Linked DNA regions of Homo sapiens: region 1 is linked to region 2. The links are contacts of gene promoters, found by promoter capture Hi-C in human tissues and cell types (Jung and others, 2019). All regions are on one chromosome and are shown on one strand. The core of a region is centred on a gene start or on the middle of the fragment in contact, and the rest is flanking DNA. Distances in the headings are between cores, read along the strand shown.

Region 1 (7,313 bases), core at 4,475-6,974, 690 kb before region 2:
TGGAAACTCGAGATACAGGTTTGAATCATCAAGGTTTGCAAGCAGAATGAGGATCCTCTGAGTTTTGCCTCTGCTCTCCTCAGTACGCATCAGTGTCTCCACACGAGTAGTGAGTGTGTTCTGTAGGTGTCCGACACGAAACCCTTTCCCTCCAGACTGGTCTCCTCCCCACCGGGCAAACCCTGCTTCTGTAGCTGTTGCCTTTCTTCCTCTTCCCTGTGCTGCCTGCCTTCACACTGCCTACCTGAATCCTGCCTTCTGTGAGGCTGAGCTCAGATCTCACCTCCTCCAGGAAGTCTCCCCTGACTGCCCTCCCCATCTGCCCTCCTCCTTTGGTACTTCATTGCTCGGAAGTAGCAATGGTCCCTTTGTGTGGGGGTGTCCCTCCCAATCTAGACTGGAAGCTCCTTGAGGGCAGGGAGGCCGTTTTATGAGGATTTGCCTTCTCTATGGTACTTGGTCTGTGCACATGGTAGATGCTCTGGAATGTTTGTTGAATAAGTAAGTAAAGCTAGGAGGGCATTTGTAAAGAAGTGGGGGATGGCTGGGCCTCTGGAGAGCAAGCTCCTCTGAGTGTCAGTGGGTGCTCTGCATCTTCAGGTGAGAAAGCAGCTAGAGTTAGGGACCCATCTGGGGCTATCCAGAGGACAACAGCTCCCGTTGGGTTGCCTGTTTGGTGAGGACATTGGGTGGCATGGGTGAAATTTGGCATGCCATTTAAATAATCCTCTTGGGTCCTTCCATGCAGCTGGCCCAACTCTTGATTTGTTTTTATTGCTAATAAGAATTTTATTATTTCCATTTACTGAGTGTTTCCTTGGACACTATGCTAAGCACTGCATATAGATTGTCTTGGGAGGTTGATACTTTTATCAGTCCCATTTTGCGGATAGAGAAACTGAGGCTCAGAGAGATAAATAACTTGTTCAGGGTCACACCAGTAATAAAAACAGAAAAGCAGGATTTGAATTCATGTCCTTTGGACTGCAGTACCCAAGCTTTTCCTATCACATATGTGCTTACACTTTTCCTTCTTGTTTCCAATCATTACCTACCAGTAGCACAAGCCTAGGATCCCAGAATTATACCAGATCTGGGTGTTTGTATTTTGGCTTGTGTTCTTCCTGTGTTGCCCTGGCTAGCCTTGAACTCCTGGGTTCAAGCAGTTCTTCTGCCTCAGCCTCCTGAGTAGCTGGGACCACAGGTGTGCACCACCATGCCTGGCTCGACTTGTGTTTTTGATTGAGCCCTGGTGGAGGCAGATACATTCCCCAATGATCCAGCTGATCCCCCATGCCCCGGGCTGTTCATGGCTCTGGTATTTTTGCAGGTTTCTTTTTGGTGTATACAAGTCGGACAGTGGCACCATTCACAGTGGCCATTGCTCTAGAATGAAGAGATTGCACAGACTTGATTGGGTTTTCTTTCCTCTTTCTAAAAGTTTAGGATATGGTATTATTATCTACAGTATGATGGCATAACATATGGTTGGGGGCAGGAGCCGTAAATGGGTTAAATGGAACTATTGTTAGAAATGTGCTTCTGCCCATTTTTGTTTGTGTGTATGAAACACCTGCTAGTTTGTGCTTCTTCCTTTTGAAAGAGACAGAAGTATGTGACTTCTCTCTTGACTCCTTTACCAGTGGAAGAGCAATGCACACCGAGTGGCAGTTGACTTTCCACGAGTGCAGGGAACAAGAGGGAGGGCTGGGCACCCGGGTCACCTGGAGACAAGTGTGTCCCCCGCCTAGAGGAGCCAGTGGCTTTCCTGTTCCAGCCAATGCCTGGCAGGCTGGTGACCCAGAGCGGCTAGATTTTCCGCTCTTTCATCAGAAGCCCCTGCTTTGATTTCTATATGAAATTTCCTGATTTGTGAGTTGGACAACACATTTATAAATTAAAAGCAGACAAGATACCCTGTGGGCCAAACCAGTGCCTCTCGCATGAAACATGTCTGCAAGCTAGATGTGGCTTGTGGGCTGTTTGCAACCTCTGCTTTAAGGCTTTGGCTTATTTTCTTTGGCCTAGACACAAAGGATCAAGAACTTTAACCCTTTGGAAACCCAAGGGAAGAGTGTTGGTGGGGAGCCAGGAACCCGGGGTTCTGGCCTGGCCTCTGTCTTGTGTCCTAGGGCAGGTGATATCCCTGGGCCTCTGTTTTCTAATCTGTAAATTGGATCAGTTTGAACAGCTTGTCCCTGCTGTTCCCTTCCAGCCCTCTTCATTCTCAATAATCCCAATTAGTTATCAACGTTGCAAAAATTTGGCACCACATGTTTAGTGCCATATAAATTTAAAATCTCCGTTGGTAGGTCCTGTGTCTCCTAACAACCAAAACCCTCTCCCAAGGCAAGTACCACTTGGCAGCCGTAGCCAGTTGCCACTTGAGATTATTACTGGCCCCATTTAGGCCAATGTGATGCGATTTGAAACGTGCTTTTCTTATTCCAGCATTTGGTGTGGAAAAATGTTTGCATTTTTCATCCTGCTCTTTATTTTGTGACTACGCCACATGCTGGGTTTTCTTTTTGAATTTAGGCATAAATGAAATCTCGGAAGATGTCTATACGGCCGTAGAGCACAGCGATTCGGAGGATTCTGAGAAGTCAGATAGTAGCGATAGTGAGTATATCAGTGATGATGAGCAGAAGTCTAAGAACGAGCCAGAAGACACAGAGGACAAAGAAGGTTGTCAGATGGACAAAGAGCCATCTGCTGTTAAAAAAAAGCCCAAGCCTACAAACCCAGTGGAGATTAAAGAGGAGCTGAAAAGCACGTCACCAGCCAGCGAGAAGGCAGACCCTGGAGCAGTCAAGGACAAGGCCAGCCCTGAGCCTGAGAAGGACTTTTCCGAAAAGGCAAAACCTTCACCTCACCCCATAAAGGATAAACTGAAGGGAAAAGATGAGACGGATTCCCCAACAGTCCATTTGGGCCTGGACTCTGATTCAGAGAGCGAACTTGTCATAGATTTAGGAGAAGACCATTCTGGGCGGGAGGGTCGAAAAAATAAGAAGGAACCCAAAGAACCATCTCCCAAACAGGATGGTAAGTGATTGTATCTGTTTCCAGTTTTCTTAATTTGGTTTAGAATCCTACCTCGTACACTTACTATCAAAAGTTATGTGACCCTTAAAGAAACAAATCAGAAGTTATGTGACCCTCTAACACACTGAGAGAGAGGCACAGTGAAGCTGTGTTTGGTTTAAGGTTGCCTAGCTAGTCATAGAACAGGACCTGGACTCAAACATGGGCCTGCCTACCTTTAACCTGCTCGGTATCCAGTATGATTGATTTTGAGTACAGAAAGAGAAGTCTGTTAGAAAATGATGGTTACTTTTAGTGACCAAGTCATTTTTAGTCTGAGCAGCTTCTTTTCCAATATGCTCATTTATTTCCCCAAAGTGTTTGTTAACATTTGGATCTTGTCAAATGGTCCTTCAGTGCTGCATTCCACAGACATCTCATTCTCTTTTGACAAGTCTCAAACGGTTAGGAGTGTTCATTTCAAGCTGGGCATGGTGGCTCACGCCTGTAATCCCAGCACTTGGGGAGGCCGAGGCGGGTGGATCATTTGAGGTCAGGAGTTCAAAACCAGCTTGACCTACATAGTGAAACCCTGTCTCTACTAAAATACAAAAATTAGCGGGGCGTGGTAGCAGGCGCCTGTAATCCCAGCTACTCGTGAGGCGGAGGCAGGATAATCGCTTGAACCCAGGAGGCGGAGGTTGCAGTGAGCTGAGATTGCGCCACTGCACTCCAGTGTGGGTGGCAGAGCAAGACTCCCTCTCTAAAAAAAAAGCAGTGTTCATTTCAAAGGTTTTGATGATTTCAGCTTTGCTTTCCTCCCCTCATGCCACCTAGGCATCTCCAAGTGTATTTTCTTACAGTAGTAGGACAGTATTTGGGTGATTGGTGCCAGAATACTGAGTGCTTCTTAGGGCACTAGAAAATGGAGTATGGTGGATATGTGTATTGGCTTTTTTGGGGAGGGGGGGCGGACAGAATTTGGCTCTTGTCGCCCAGGCTGGAGTACAATGGTACAATCTCGGCTGACTGCAACCTCCGCCTCCCGGGTTCAAGTGATTCTCCTCCCTCAGCCTCCCAAGTAACTGGGATTACAGGCACCTGCCACCACGCCTGGCTAATTTTTGTATTTTTAGTAGAAACAGGGTTTCACCATGTTGGCCAGGCTGGTCTCAAACTCCTGACCTCAGGTGAGCCACCCAGCTCGGCCTCCTAAAGTGCTGGGATTACAGGCATGAGCTACTGCGTCTGGCCTTACTGGCTTTTAATCTTATTTGCATTTAACTTAGCTCAGAGTTTCACAACCTTGCACTTCTGACAGTTTGCCCTGGCTAATTCTTAGTCCTGTGTATTGGAGGATGTTTTCCAGCATCCCTGGCCTCTACCAGCCAGATGGCAACCTTACTTGCTCAGTTGTGGCAGTCACAAATGTGGCAATCAAATATTGCCAAATATCCCCTGAGTCTCAGAGGCTACGGTTATATTCTGAACCAGCAGTGACTACCCCACAGCCTAGTGCAGCCTGGGCATGTTAACAAGCCCAACAAAAGGGGTGTGGGAATGATTGGAAGGATGTCCTTCCCACTGACAAAGTATTCAGCACATTTTTGAGTTGGCTTGGCAATTAGGTTAGAGGATTCAACATGCTCAATAAAGATACTGAAGAATTAACTAAGGGCCCAGAAGAAACATTGCCCCAGGACAAATTACAGGTTGTAGCCATAAAACCTTATGTATGTGGCGAGTGACTTAAGGGATAGCCAGGTTTAAATCTTGACTGTGCCTAACTTCTATCAGGAGCTAACTTGTCAATGAAACCCTTGAATAAGATGTAACTCCATGTCCTTTGGGGTTTCCATTGTCTGGTGGCTTAAAGCAAGTCAGGGATGGGCCTTGAGAATCTTTCTGCTGTGGTTATGGTCAACCTGGGCTGCTCTGGAACCTCAGCTGTCAGAGTGAGAGAGGATTCCTGCAGTTCAGCTAAAGAGAATGTCTGTGAGAGGTACAGTGGAGGAAGAGAGAGATACAGTTACATAAGGGAGGGAGGATAGGCCATCAAACCATCCCGACCCATCTGTTAGATTTATAGATGGCCTCTGAAAAATATGAGTATGTTATGGATTGGGTTTTGAGAGACTGTCTCTGTTGTTGCAGAGAACAATAGGAGTAGCATTTATTTCATGAGGATCGTAGGAATATTTGGGTGCAGATGGCAGTGCTCCTATGAGTGACATATTTATACTGTTCTTTCTTTCTGGAACAGATCTTTTGATTGATTGGTTTTGTGCCCCTACCTCTTCCAGAAAGAATTTGCAACAGATTGACAAGGATACATAACCATATGAAACAAGATGAAAATAAAGACATCCATGTAAAAGGAAAATGAAGGTAGAATAGCAAGTGGTCTGGGGAAAGGTTTTATACAGAAATCTGTACTATTTCAATCTTCAGAGTTAGGGAAGTTGGCTCTGAAAGCAGAATGGGAAACACAGTACCTTAGAAGATCTCATACTTTCCAAAAAAACAAAAAACCATTCTAGTTGATTAAAAGAAGTAGAACTTTTCCTCACATTGATGTCTGAAGGGAATTTCTCCAGGAAGCTTTAGTAGATGGTGGACAATTAAGCTGAAGATGATTCTAAAACACAGTTCAGTTAGAGCAGCTTCCTAAGGCTTGGGGCAAAACCAATTGATCTTAAATTCAGAGCTGATGGTGGTTTGGGTCTTGAAAAATTCTCGTGTCAGACTCCGCTAGAGAGCATCTTTTCAATGATGTGTTTTCACTTAAGAGTTTAGTAAGTGAAGGGCATTTTGGATTGCGCTGTTGTGACCTCCAGCTTACCTTCCACTAGGGATGCAGCTTATGGGTAGAATATGAATCTTCAGATGGCAAAACAGCTTTTATAGCTAATAACCTCAGAACAGAAGCAAAGAGAGCACACTTAGACTCTTCGCTGTGCTTTCACTGGCACATCAGTAATTTCCATCCTTCTACAAAGGGGATGCTAATTTTTCTCTTAAAAAGTCCTTGCTTTATAAATGAAAAACAGTGACCAGTGACAAATTCAGGAATTAAGTAGGTTAATTTGATAGGGCAGCTTCTCAGGTGCTGACCCTTTAAAAAAAAATTCACCCTTTTTTTCCCGCTACAGGTGATTGATTATGTACTCCAGATTTCTGGGACAAATGAAATTTCCTGTAGCCTCATTTTGTCTCCATAAACCATCAGGATTCCTGGAAATTTAAATATTTTGATATCTAAATAACTTCAAACAATTTTGAGCCTGGAATCTTATCGGATTGTATACTCTAGTTCTTTATTTGGCAGAGAGCCAGCTGTGATCACTGCAGAGCAGTAACCCCTCCGCCCTGCTGGCTGTTTGCTTTTGCAAATCAGGAGAGAGAAAACGACCATTTTGCGGTTGCCCTTACGGTGGGGAGACAGGCTAGCTCATCAACAATAACAGTATATTTTTTGGTAATGTGGCAGGAAAGGAAGGCATTGAAGGCACTTACGTGGGTTAGAAGCTCTGCTAAGGCACTGCCCCCTGCCCTCCTCTTAGAAGGGCCCAGTTCAACACCTCATCTCCACCTGGAAGAGGCGGGGACTGTGCCCCATATCTGGCAGGTGGCCCTGGAAGCATCGGAGTTCTTCACTGCAGGAAGCTCTCCTTCCAGACCCACCCCAGGCTCTTGCTGACCAGCTTGGCTGGATTCTCCTCTCTGGGGAAGTACAAGGGCCAGCAACATCTCGATAACCATCGAGAACGCCCTCTGAAGTCGGGATAGTCAGCTTGTCTCTTTCCCTCCTTGGCTTCTTAAAACCCACAGCTTACTGAATGAAAATCCTTGCTGGAGTAATCAGGCTCATGTCTTTTTCTGGGTAATACTGATCTTAAAAAGACAGACATAGGCCGGGCGCAGCGGCTCACGCCTGTAATCCCAGCACTTTGGGAGGCCGAGGCGGGTGGATCACAAGGTCAGGAGATTGAGACCATCCTGGCTAACACAGTGAAACCCCGCCTCTACTGAGAATACAAAAAATGAGCTGGGCATGGTGGCGGGCACCTGTAGTCCCAGCTACTCGGGAGGCTAAGGCAGGAGAATGGTGTGAACCCAGGAGGCGGAGCTTGCAGTGAGCCGAGATCGCGCCACTGCACTCCAGCCTGGGTGACAGAGCAAGACTCCATCTCAAAAAAAAAAAAAAAAGAAAAGAAAAAGAGGCAGACATAATCCTTATTTAAAGGAGTTTGATGTCAGGGAGCATAGTCCAAGATCGGGGTGCT
Region 2 (6,821 bases), core at 2,433-4,932:
TGAGACCCTCTTTGGCATCTGGCAACAATTGTTTGGAGCTGAGTAGTATGTGGAGGAAATCATAAGTTGGAACGTAAACATTAATTAGCCTCAGTCCCCACCACTCTTTAATGACTTACACTGGCTCTCCTCTGTCAACTCTGTCACTTTCCTGGCTTGTGAAAGCATTTGAATCTATGACCCTTGAATTGCATGATCTGGGAGGTCCATTTCAGCATTAGCGGTCACGGGTTCTAATGGCCTAGAGCAGCACTACCCACTGACCTTTCTGTAATGATGGAAATGGTCTATAGCTGCCCTGTGTGACACAGTAGCCACTTGCTATGTGTGGCTACTGAACATTTGTAATGTGGCTAGTTCAAATTGAGATTTGTTATAAGTAGAAAATTGTAATATGAGAAAATAAATGTAAAACATCCTGTCAATTTTTTATATTATTTACATGTTAAAAGGATATTTGTGATATGTTACATTGACTAAAATATTTTATTAAAATTGATTTCTGTTTTTAAAAATTCGATTTTTTAAATTTAAAAAATGTTATATATCAACTTGACTGGGCCATAGTGCCCAGATATTTGGTCAAGCATTATTCTGGATATTTCTGTGAGGGTGTTTTTAGATGAGACTAACATTTGAATCAGTGGACTTTGAGTAGGGTTACCAGAAAAGTTTAAATTATGCATACGGTTCGAGTTGGTGGCTCACATACTGTTGCTATTGGATAGCACCAGCAATATAGGAAGATTTTGGCTGCTTCTCTGTATTCTCAAACTATCTGGACAGTGGCAACGTTGAAGAAGGCTAAAGAATTCAGTGACTCTAATTATTCTGTGCAGCTGGGCACAGTAGCTCACGCCTGTAATCCCAGCGCTTTGGGAGGCTGAGGTGGGCAGATTACTTGAGCCTAGGAGTTTGAGACCATCCTGGGCAACAAGGCAAAAGTCCATCTCTACTGAAAATAATACTCTATGGGTCTCTGATTCTGATCCCAGACCAGGCTCTCCAGGAAGATCTGAAGGCTTACCTCTTCCTCTTCCTCTTCTGTCTTATGGCTCTGAATCCTCCACCCACAAATTCCCCTCAACAAAGCTGATTCTATTTTTGATGATTCAGAAGCCCCTTCCGGATGTTGTGGGCCTTGAGGTCAGGCCAGCCTTATATAGACAGAGGTAACTGCCTACATGTACCGAGAAAAGCCAAAAATATATTTTGCCTGTTCACTCCCTATGCCCCCATGCTCCCAAATCTTACATATCCACCAGAGGCCTTCCGGAAACAAACTGCCTGGTCCTTATCCAACCAGCTCCCTAGTGCCTGTGCAGAAACTGGGCAAATGCTGGTGGCTGGCTTCTAGGACTCTTTCTGTCTGACCAGCACAATGCCCTGAAGTTTGCTATGTGATGGGATCCAGGCCAGGGTGGCCTGGTGAGCATCAGAAGTCTCAACAATCAGATGTGAGCAGACAGGGGCTCACTTGGCAGAACTGTCATCCCAGGTAGGAGGAAACAGGGCATGAGCATTTACCTATTGTTTACTGAACACTCTATATGCATTATCTCATTGAATCCTCAAACAGTCCTTAAAGTAGGTACTGTATTACCCTCATTATAGCAGAGGATGCACAACTTCAGAGAGGGACAGTGTCTTGCCCAAGGTCACACAGCACAGTAAGTGGTAAAGCTGGCATTTGAGTTCAGGTCTGCTGCCTCCAGTCCAGGGCCCCTGCAGTTTGGGGGGAATAGCTAGACATCTCCTTGCAGCCAGACAGCTAACAGCAGGCCTGACTAAGGCCTCCTGCGGAAGGTGAAAATTGATGCTCCTCATGCTGGCTTTGGCCCATAGACCTGTTAAGATTGGTCTGCATGGTAGTCTTTCATTTAAAAAAAAAAAAGCTGACATTTACATTAAAAAGAGAATGACTGGCGTCTTTAGAAAAGCTGGAAAATCTGGTCATGGTGGGCCTCGTTTTCAAGGGGCTTTGACCCTCAACTGGAGATGAATAACAGCTGACCAGACAGGAGGGAGTGGGGGGGGCTACACTTTGTAGCTCACTGCTATTTGCATTCATCCTGCTTTGTTCATGAGCTAAGCAGCGTGGCCCCTGTGGGTACACAAGTTTGCTGCTGCTAGTCTGCCTCATGTACTTAGTTCTTTGCAGACCTGGTAGCTGGCCTAACATCCTGCAGGGGTGCACTGTCTGGGAAGTGTGTTAGGCCCTCTGAGGGTTCTGGCCACAGGTATTCCATTCAATCGCTGTGTAACTATAAGAACGTCACTTCCCCTATCCAGGCCGCAGGACATTCCCCTTCAGGCCTGAGAGTGACCCAGGCAACATGTCCTTATAAGGGAAAGTGGCTGTGCCCCTACTGGTCCATCCCACAGAGGGGGAGCCTGGGGGGCTCAGGGGAGGCCTGCTGGGAGTGATGGGGTACAGAGATGCTGGAGAGGTGTCTGCATTCCAGGTAGGAACTGGCTTTCAGGACAGCCTGAAAGCAGACCTGCAGGGCACTAACTGCAGAGGGTGTGCGTGGGGAATTTACATTATTGAGTACCTACTATTTGCAGTACCAGCTGTACTATGAAGTAATCACGAGGTCTGTGAATTATCCCCTCCACAGCAGCAGAGCCCAGTGGCTAACTGGTATACCCTGAAGCCAGCCCGCTGGTTAGAAATCACGGCAGTACCATTAATAGCTGAGTGGCGTGGTTGGCGACGTAGCTCTCTGAGTCTCAGTTTTCTGAGCTGAAGAATGAAAATAACATCTTTACCATAAAGGGATGTTCAAAGTAAGTGTTCAGTGAATTTGAAGAGAAATTGTTTAGAAGAATGCCTGATACATAGTAAGTGCTCAATAAATGTTAACTGTTATTTTCATTAACTATTTTTTTTTGAGACGGAGTCTCGCTCTGTGCCCAGGCTGGAGTGCAGTGACGTGATCTCAGCTCACTGCAACCTTGTCTCCTAGGTTCAAGTGATTCTCCTGCCTCAGCCTCCCGAGTATCTGGAACTACAGGTATGCACCACCACAAACCAGATAATTTTTGTATTTTTAGTAGAGACAGGGTTTCACCATGTTGGTCAGGCTGATCTCAAACTCCTGACCTCAGGTGATCCACCCCCCTCAGCCTCCCAGAGTGCTGGGATTACAGATGTGAGCCACTGTGCCCAGCCTCATTAAACTTTTTTTAAGGGGAGAAAACCAGCAGAGAGATATGAGGTCACCTGCCCAAGGTCTCATAGCTAGGGAGGGACAGAGCTGAGATTTGAAGCGAGGTACAAGTCAGGCTAAAGACAGGAAGGGGGCTGGGGAAGGAGACCAGAGCCACTGCTCCCAGTACTTGGCAGGGGTCTGATTATCACCTGTGAGTCCCAAGAGCAGGGATCAGGCTCCCCTTGGGGCACACAACTATGGAGTGGGAGGGAAAGGGAAGCTGTATGGTTTCTCTGTGCCTCAGTTTCCTTCTCTGTAAAATGGGGCTAATTCTACCTTCCTGCTACCAAGATTAGAGACATCGCTTGGAAAAGGCTGTCTTTTCCTCTTCCCACACCTTCCACCCGCTCTTGCTTGTGGGCAGAGGATGAGGCAGCTTGCCCAACCCTCTGGGAGGTGGGCCCCGAAAAGGGCGGGACAAGGCAGCCAGGAGAGCTTCATTAAAGAGTGGAAAAGCAGAAGTGGCAGGGATTCCCAAGTCCCAGCGATTCCCCCACTTCCTCTCCACCTGCCACAGCTGCCAGCGACCGCCCGCCTGAAACCACTGCCATTTGGACAGCATGCCAGGCCACCCAGGAGCAGCTGAGCAACTTGTCAAGACCGGGTAGGTCTGGGGACTTTGGACACTGAGGGCTACAGGTGAGAAAACAGTCAGCCATTGGGGGTGATGGATATGAACCCAAATCTTCAGCTCTGCCATTCCTTGGCTATGTGACCTTAGGCAAATCCTCAGTTCTCTGTGAGCCTCAGTTCCCCATCTGTGAAATGGAAGTAATAATGACATCTACAAGACTGTTGCCAGAATTGAATGAGAAAACACATGCTTAGTACTTGGCACCTGCTTGGCTCAGAGGAAGCACTCACTAAACAGCAGCTAGTTTCCTTGCCATTTTCAATACCCCGTGCAGGAATTGTCATCCAATATGACTTAGGACTGGCTTTCAATCCTTAAAATTGTTTTTATTATTAGCTATTATTCCAAAAGCTACTGTGTTCCAAATATTAATTATATAGTAGAAGGGGGTGTTTAGTCCCAAATTCAAATGCCTTCGGGAGCTGGGAAGGGGTTGCACCTGTGGAAGGCCACCTGGGTGTGCAGACGGACCCGTTCATTGATCAGCAGGATGCAGTCTGCAGGGCTGCTCCCCTGTCAAAGGTGGGTAGTGGATACTCAGCTCCAGCTACCTGTTGCAAAGGTGGGAGCTCTAACCCAGATCTTCTTATCTCTCAAGAAAAGCTGGAAACCCAGATTTTAATGTGAAACTTCCTTATTTCCAAATGGGGGCAGCTTACACACACACACACACACACAGAGTGGGCCACAATAAGGCACATTTGCATATGATTCAGCCTTTAGGGCTTCAAGGTTGTGACCTTCACTCCAGCCCCACAGGCCTCACTGCATCTCAGCTTCCCACTGTTCTGGTTCTCCCAACTCCCTATTTCCCGATGGTCAGAGCACAGGACCTTTGCACACGCTGTTCCTTCTGTCAGGGATGTCCAACTCCCTTCTTCACCCACAAACTGACACTTGTCCTTCCACCCCCAGCTGGAATGTCACCTCTTCCAGGGAGCCTTCCTGACTCCCAGGTAAAACTGGGTCACTCTCCATCTATCCCACCCCAGTCCAGGCCCAGGCATACTATGCTCAGAATTCTTTGTTAATGAACTTAAACTCTAATGGTCTATTTAAGTCTCCTCAATTAGACTGTGAACTCCTTTAGTGGGACCAGGACTTAATTCATCTTTGTGTCCACAGGGGTCAGCACAGAGCCTGGGCACAGAGGAGACTCGAGTGAAACATTTACATCGTTGACATAAGTATCATCAGAGTAACAAGTGGTGCAGTTTTATAGGATCCCTCTTCTGTGCCAGACCCTGTGTAAACTTCTTTACATGGATTATTTCATTTTATTGTCCCAGAAGCCCTGTGACAAAGGTTTCTGTATTAGTCAGGACTCATTGAGTTGCAAGTGACAGATTGATCTTACACTGCCTGTAGAAAAACAGACATCTCCTAGTGTGTGGTCCGGCATAGATTTCGGCTTCAGGCATTTCTGGATCCAGGTCCTCCAACAAGGCCACTGGGACTCTCTGTCTGTTTCCTAACACTGTTTTCCTTGTGTTGCCTTCATCCCAGGCCGACTCATACTACATGGTGGTCCCCAAGGCTTGAGGCATCTTCCTACCAGCTTAGCTCTCAAGGCAACAAAGGGCAGTTTTTTTGTCGTTGCAGCAAAATCCTGAGGAAAGCTCTATTGGTCCATCTCCGGTCAGGTGCAATCCCTGCACCAGTCACGGTGGCCAGGGGATCAGAGGTACTTGGATCAACTAGACCCAGTCACATGCTTATCCTTCAAGCTGTTGATGGTGGAGCAAGTCAGCAGCTTTGCCTGTAACCAACACAGTGACAGCCTCCCCACCACCCTCCCTGCCCTTTATAACCATATTCCCGTATAACCTTTCTGCCTGCTCTCACTTAAGATAATGTATGATCTCCAACCTCAAGTGGGCCTCAGTGTTGCCCAGCACATATGTTATTGCCCCAGTTCGTTTGTTCTCCCACTTTCCTGGGCAACCATTTTGTACTTTCTTCTTCCTCTTCAAGCATCCATCACCTCCGCCAGCATCTTACCTTCTCTGCTGACCTTGCTTCCTGCCAACCTGAGCAAACAGAAGCAATCGGTCATGCTACTCTTAATGAATAGTTTTGGAGCACTCACAACATGGCAGACACTATTGTAGGCACTTGGGACATATCAGTGACCAAAACGGACAAAGTCCCTGCTCCGGTGGAGTTGACTCTAGTGGTAGGTAATAGCTGATGTGATACTTACCATGTGCCAGAAACAAAGTGACCCCAGGAGGTGCATACTTTTATTGCACCATTTTACAGATGAGACAGCTGAGACACAGAAAGGTTGTGATATGTACCCAAGTTCACATAGCTGGCAAGTGGTGGAGCAGAAATTTGAGCCCAGGCAGTCCAGAGGTCATGCCCTTAACATTACTCTGCTCTGCGTATATCAGAGGATACTTTTCACAGGTGCATACACGCTGCCTGTTCATTCGCCATCATCTGTACCTATTTCCTCTGCTTTCCCACCTGCTATTAAGGATGAACGACCCCTGCTCTATTCTAAGACCAGCCCCACCTTGCATGTTCTCAGTCTCACTCTCTGCCTCCACCCCTACAGGTGTCACTCCAGGGAGTCTCCCCTTTGTCAATGTCTCCCCTCTCGATGAGATCTCCCACCTGCAAACATGCTATAGATTTCCTCCCTTTACATGAATTCTCTTGGTCCAATTTCCCATAGCTACCAGCCACTGCTTCATCTCCCTGCTGTTTTAGTGTAGAAATTACCGGAAAGAGTTGTCTGTATCTGTGTTTCCTATTCTTCTCCTTCCCGTCTCTCCTGGACCCAGTCTAGTTGGATTTTGGCCCCAAAAGCCACCGAACTCTCCCTGCCAAGGTCAACAGTGACCTCTAAGCGGCTAATAGGCATTGCTCAGTCCTCATCATTCTTGACCTGTTGGCTGCATTTGACGTACTTGATCACTCCTTTCTCCTTGAAACATTTTGTTTATTTGGCTTCCTAAGCACCA

Evidence for each region. The method cuts DNA at HindIII sites, captures the fragments that hold promoters and counts their contacts. A contact is called where the count stands out against the background at its distance.
Region 1: a fragment that was not itself captured here is called in contact with the fragment with the promoter of OCSTAMP in region 2 in 1 of the 25 tissues and cell types used here (dorsolateral prefrontal cortex).

The regions. Positions count from the first base shown.
Region 1 is chr20:47,241,743-47,249,055 of GRCh38, reverse strand. It overlaps ZMYND8 (zinc finger MYND-type containing 8), which reads left to right. Exons shown (of 23, transcript NM_001281775.3): 14 at 2,539-3,048. Among named protein-coding and RNA genes, the nearest start is that of MIR3616, 78 kb to the right of the region's middle. The HindIII fragment of the contact is 4,822 bases long and covers 3,314-7,313 here.
Region 2 is chr20:46,547,515-46,554,335 of GRCh38, reverse strand. OCSTAMP (osteoclast stimulatory transmembrane protein) reads left to right here and starts at 3,682. Exons shown (of 3, transcript NM_080721.3): 1 at 3,682-3,819. The coding sequence starts at 3,776. RefSeq lists an enhancer at 1,023-1,222. The HindIII fragment of the contact is 9,290 bases long and covers 1-6,821 here.